2 separate regions of the Homo sapiens genome follow, and region 1 is linked to region 2. The links are contacts of gene promoters, found by promoter capture Hi-C in blood cells and fetal thymus (Javierre and others, 2016). All regions are on one chromosome and are shown on one strand. Each heading gives the region's core, a stretch centred on a gene start or on the middle of the fragment in contact. The rest is flanking DNA. Distances are from core to core; before and after follow the strand shown. Region 1 holds the start of LINC02321 (long intergenic non-protein coding RNA 2321). Region 2 holds the start of PPP4R3A (protein phosphatase 4 regulatory subunit 3A).

Region 1 (2,700 bases), core at 11-2,510, 680 kb after region 2:
GCCCAGGAACTGCATGACCTCATCAGGAGGCTCCCTCATTGGCTGCCGCCGCCGCGCCTGGTCGCCTCGTTCCGTTCGATTCCAGAAAGCCGCGCCGGCCCCAGTCCCCATGGGCTGAAGGCAGGTTGAGTTCTTCCCCAGGTCTGCGAGCCTCGAAGGCTTCTTTCAGACAGCAGACCCCTTAGAAGCGCAAGGCTGCTTTCTGACAAAGAATCAAGTGTTCCTTTCAACCAGCCAAGGGACTGGTTTTCTCGCTGACCCTTTGACAGGTATGTTCCCGGGATTTTGCTGGGACCTTCATCTTCCCCTCCCTACGTCCGTGACACATCTGGCTTCCCACTCGTTTCAGTCGTGTATTCCGTGGAGTTTTCTCTTGCTTCGCAGTAGATGGACTTCTGAAGCCCCACCTTACTGTTAAATGCCAGTGATCATCTCCCCCCACAGCTAACTCGGGAATTAGTCCACTGACACCCCCAGAGAGGGGACACGCCTTTCACAAGGTCACACGGCAGGTCAGTTACAGAGATGAAAATCAAATCCAGGTTTCCTAACTTCAAGAGTTTTTTCAGATGCCTTATTATTATTATTCGTTTTATTTTTATTTTTCATTTTTTATTTTTTTGAGATGGAGTCTCACTCTGTCACCCAGGGTGGAGTGCAGTGGAGTGATCTTGGTTCACTGCAATCTCTGCTTCCCGGGTTTAAGCGATTCTTCTGCCTCAGCCTCCCGAGTAGCTGGGATTACAAGTGCCCACCACCACACCCGGCTAATTTTTGTATTTTTAATAGAGACGGGTTTCATCATGTTGGCCAGGCTGGTCTCGAACTCCTGACCTCAGGTGATCCACCCGCCTCGGCCTCCCAAAGTGCTTGGGACTACAGCTGTGAGCCATCTCACCTGGTAATTATTATTATTTTTTTTTTAATTTGCTTCCTGAGAGCTCAGAAAGGAACCTCAGCTGTATGGGAGCACCCATATACCAATCCCATTCCAGCCACTCTCACTTTGACAGGACAGAATCAACGACCAGAGCCCAGGACCTCCTTGACTAGCACTCTCCTCTTACAAATAAGGAAACTGAAGGGTACCTGATCATGAACAAGCTGATGGGCAGCACTTGACCCAGACCTTTTACTTCTTACCCCTCCACCCCAGTTTGGACTCCCAAATGTGGGGAGGAATGGAATGCCCTACCAGTCCCCAGGGAATGGTTCATGCAGTCAGCATGGTTTTAGTACCTTTAGCATTTGATTTGGGAGAAAGATAATAACCAGAAGTGTCTGTATGCCTCACCAGCTGTCCAGCAGATCCCATAAACCTTCACCCCCAACCCTTCTGACCACCAAGTGCTTTGCTGCAGGAAAGGAGACCAGATTGTTGGGTTTTTCTCATCTGATGGTCGGGGGTGATCTGGGACTGCATATGTCTGAATACTGGGACCCTATTTTGAGTGCAAGAGTTTTGAAAACCCAGGACCACTTTGTTAGATGGTGAGGGTTGGTGAGCAGACTGGACCTGAGATCCTTTTTCAAGGCTTGGCTTGGGGGCAACATTCTCCAGGAAGACTTACTGGAGCACCCACCACAGTTAATTCCTGGCGTTCCTCTGGGTCCGGCTGCAGAGCTGTTGCTCACTTCTTTCCCCCACTAGACTGTGAGTTCCTTGAGGGATGGGACCATACCCTACACAATATTGTATCACTAAGGCCTAACACTGTGTCCGGCACATAGTAGGTACTCAATAAACGTTTGTTGAATTGAACTGTGGAAACCTTGCACCCTATTGGCCTTGTGCAGGGGAAGATCACTCACAATTCCTCACTGAAGCAGATCCTGTGTCTATCAGGCTCCTTCACACAAAATGAGAATTAGTTTCTTTTTTTCACAGTAACGTGTCCGAAGTGCAAACTTCAAACCTGTTTGCTGATACAACTCCCCAGGAACAACCAGGTCCCTTGTGCCCACCTAGTTCGTGATTTCTCTTTAAAACTCCTGATGTCAGCTGGGCGTGGTGGCTCACACCTGTAATCCCAGCACTTTGGGAGGCTGAGGTGGACAGACCACTTGAGGTCGGGAGTTCGAGACCAGACTGGCCAACATGGTGAAATCCCGTCTCTACTAAAAATACAAAAATTAGGCAGGCGTGGTGGCATATGCCAGTAATCTCAGCTACTTGGGAAGGTAAGGGAGGAGGATCACTTGAACCCCAGAGGCAGAAGTTGCAGTGAGCCAAGATTGTGCCACTGCATTCCAGCCTGGGTGACAGAGCAAGACTTTAATCTCAAAAAACAAACAAACAAACAAACTCCTGATATGTGAATCAACAACATCATTTAAATCAAACCATTCTGCCAGGCGCAGTGGCTCACACCTGTAATCCCAGCACTTCGGGAGGCCGAGGTGGGCAGATCACCTGAGGTCAGGAGTTCAAGACCAGCCTAGCCAACATGGTGAAACCCTGTCTCTACTAAAAAATGCAAACATTAGCTGGGCATGGTGGCAGATTCCTGTAATCCCAGCTACTTGGGAGGCTGAGGCAGGGAGAATTGCTGGAACCCAGGAGGCGGAGGTTGCAGTGAGCTGAGATCAAGCCACTGCACTCCAACCTGGGTGACAGAGTGAGACTCCATCTAAAAAAAAAAAAAAATTAAATAAATAAAACCATTCCACGTGTTTTCTTCTGTGCCTGGTCTGCTAGGA
Region 2 (2,700 bases), core at 16-2,515:
CCCTGTCTCAAAAAAAATTTTTTTTCAATAAAATCTAAACGTAGATATTTCTGATGAAAATTTAGTATCCCAACAGAGACTTGCTGGAAGGACAAAATATATCACATTTTTAAGACATTGTACGTATATCTCATTAGTAATTTGATTATTGAAATAACTTTTGAAAATACCGCACTAAAACGTTAACACTAATTTCACCAGTTTCTTCGTACTTTTTGTGGCTACTGCAAAATTTAAAGTTATGTGTGTGGCTGCATTATATTCCGAGCGGACAAGCCCGACCTGGCAAGGCCTGGCAAATGGTAAAAGCCACCAAAATGGTGGCATATGAGCTGCATGATAGGAACGAGAATGATATTCCTTTGTGAAGATCAACAATACTTGACATCAAGTAGGTCTTCAAAACACAGGACTACCTAATGCTGAGAATTACTCCTCCCGATTACACAGTGTCGCATTTGTTTTTGTGAGCGCCTTAAGTTCCTTTTCCGACAAGAAAGGCTGGCAGACAGTTCTGATAGGGATGAAGGAATGGAGCACTTGGGGCTTGCCTAGGCTGTAAGGTGAAGTTTTAGAATTGTCACTTGGAACTCGGTCCCACGCCCAGAAATCGCAAACAGTCCCAAGTTTCCACACTGGCCACGCCAGTCCGCGACCCACGGCGGCTCCCAAGGCTGCGCCGACCTAGGCGCCCACACCCGCGACCTTCCCCGGAAGCGTTTCCATTTCATTCCCTCAAGTCCGCAAGGCGCCGGGTGGGTCCCGAGCGCCCGACTCAGCCATAAAGGCGGCCCCGGGAAAACGCTCTCGGAAGCGGGTAGGGGCCCAGGCCCACGCTGCCCGGCGTCCGCAGGCCAGGGGCAGGGGCAGAGGCAGGGACGGGGCAGGAACAAGGGAAGGTGGCGGCGGGCGGAGGCGAGGCCGAAGCGCCGGGGCCCGCGGGCAGAGGCCGCAAACGTATCCACGCCCCTCGTGCATCCTGGAGCGGGGCTGATGACGAACACAGGGCGCGACGGACGCACACACCGCCCAGCGCTCGCACGACGGTGCGTGCAAGGAGGCGGGAGGGAGCCTCGGGCTGTCACCGGCGCAATCTGCGTCCCGCCTCCTCCGCTCCCTGCGCTCCCGCCACCTCGGCAACTCCGCGCCCGCCTCCCGCCTCCGTCGGAAGCCTCCGCCGCAGTAAGGCTCCCGGTCTCGCTGCTGTCTCTTTAAATGGTGGGGCTACGAGCCGCCCCTGCAGCTGCTCCCTGGGTGGCCCCGCGCGCCGCTTTTGAGGGGCGAACCAAGATGGCGGCGGTTTTGGCTGTGTGAGGAAGACGGAAGAGACGGCGGCGGAGGGAAACCGACTTCCACTAGTCCGGGTCGCTTGGGCGGCCGGGGGCCCTCAGAGTCTCCCGGGCAGTGGTAGCAGTTGCAGCAGGATCAGGCGCCTGTCGGCTTCTGACGTTTAAAACAGGGGGAGCGGAAGGGAGCCACTGGCCGCGGTGGCAGGGCCAGGTATAAGGAAGGAAAATATGGCGGCGGCGGCGGCGGCCTGAGGAGGCGGCGGCGGCGCGGGAAGCTGCTTCGCGGAGATCATGGCGGAGGCGGGAGCAGGGCAGTGACGGGAGCCCCGAGTTCCTAGCGCTGCGGGGCGGGAGGCTACGAAGCGCTGCGCGGCCCCCTCGGGGCTGCCGGGCGCCGGGCTCGCCAGGCCTGGACAATAGCGCCGGGGAGCCGGAGGCGAGGAAAGGCGGCGGCCCAGAGCTCGGTCCCTGGAGCGGGCCATGCAGGCGGCGGCGCGGCCCCGCGGCGCCCAGCGGCGGCAGTGAGGCCGGGGAGCCCTCCGCTCGCGGGCGCCCTCACGCCTCGCCCCTCGCCTCTCCAGGGCCCCTTTCCTGGGCGTCTACTGGCGGGGCCCCCGCCCCGGTTCCCGGGCGGCACGATGACCGACACCCGGCGGCGGGTGAAGGTGTACACGCTCAACGAGGACCGGCAGTGGGACGACCGGGGCACCGGGCATGTGTCGTCTGGCTACGTGGAGCGGCTGAAGGGCATGTCCCTGCTTGTCAGGGCTGAGAGCGACGGTAAGTGAAGCCCCGCGCGGCGGGACCCTCGCAGCCCCCACGGCCCTGGGCCGCCTCCCTGGTTCTTGCGGGGCATGGCGCTCGCTCCACGAGAACAGAGGGACGGCTGGGGAGGGCGGCCACCTCGGGGGAGGACGGGCCCCAGGTACCCCAGTCTTGCGGGAGCTCCCCGGAGAGCGCTTGAAATGTTTCCTTTCTCTGAGTGCCTGGTGGCATTTTGGGTACGAGGAGAGCCAAGCGTGTTTGAGCTGTGCCGCCCTGGAGTGTGGAGAGGTCGAGGACCTGAGATAGGGAGTCCGGAGTGTGCTGTTCTTTTGCACTAGAGTGACCTTGAGAAAGACACTGATTAATCCGATCTGCTGCCTTAGTTCACCCATCTGTAAAGCAGGCATGAAACTTTGCTTGGAGCTAAGAAAGTTCTTGGACCTTTCACACTTTGAAGAACGTTTTGCTGTGCTTTTTTTGTTTTTCTTTTTAAACATCTTTTTGCTACATGTTTCTGATCGTGTTGAAGCTTGGCAACACTGTATCTGGCAACTCTACACTAAGAGAAAACGCTTTCCCTTGCGAAGATTTTCGTTCACCAGTGTTGGTTGTCTTTTTTATAGTAATGCAGAATTTTGTGTGTAGC

The links. The method cuts DNA at HindIII sites, captures the fragments that hold promoters and counts their contacts. A CHiCAGO score of 5 or more calls a contact.
Region 1: a contact is called between a fragment that was not itself captured here and the fragment with the promoter of PPP4R3A in region 2, in 1 of 17 cell types (activated CD4 T cells). The highest score is 5.7, in activated CD4 T cells.

What each region holds. Positions count from the first base shown.
Region 1 is chr14:90,825,558-90,828,257 of GRCh38, reverse strand. It overlaps LINC02321 (long intergenic non-protein coding RNA 2321), which reads left to right and starts at 84. Exons shown (of 4, transcript NR_184259.1): 1 at 84-269. RefSeq lists a silencer at 1-53. The HindIII fragment of the contact is 3,534 bases long and covers 1-2,700 here.
Region 2 is chr14:91,508,875-91,511,574 of GRCh38, reverse strand. PPP4R3A (protein phosphatase 4 regulatory subunit 3A) reads left to right here and starts at 1,265. Exons shown (of 15, transcript NM_001366432.2): 1 at 1,265-2,069. The coding sequence starts at 1,928. RefSeq lists silencers at 1,006-1,205, 1,786-1,885, 1,896-1,955, 2,206-2,255 and enhancers at 1,266-1,545, 1,363-2,013, 2,014-2,665. The HindIII fragment of the contact is 5,922 bases long and covers 1-2,585 here.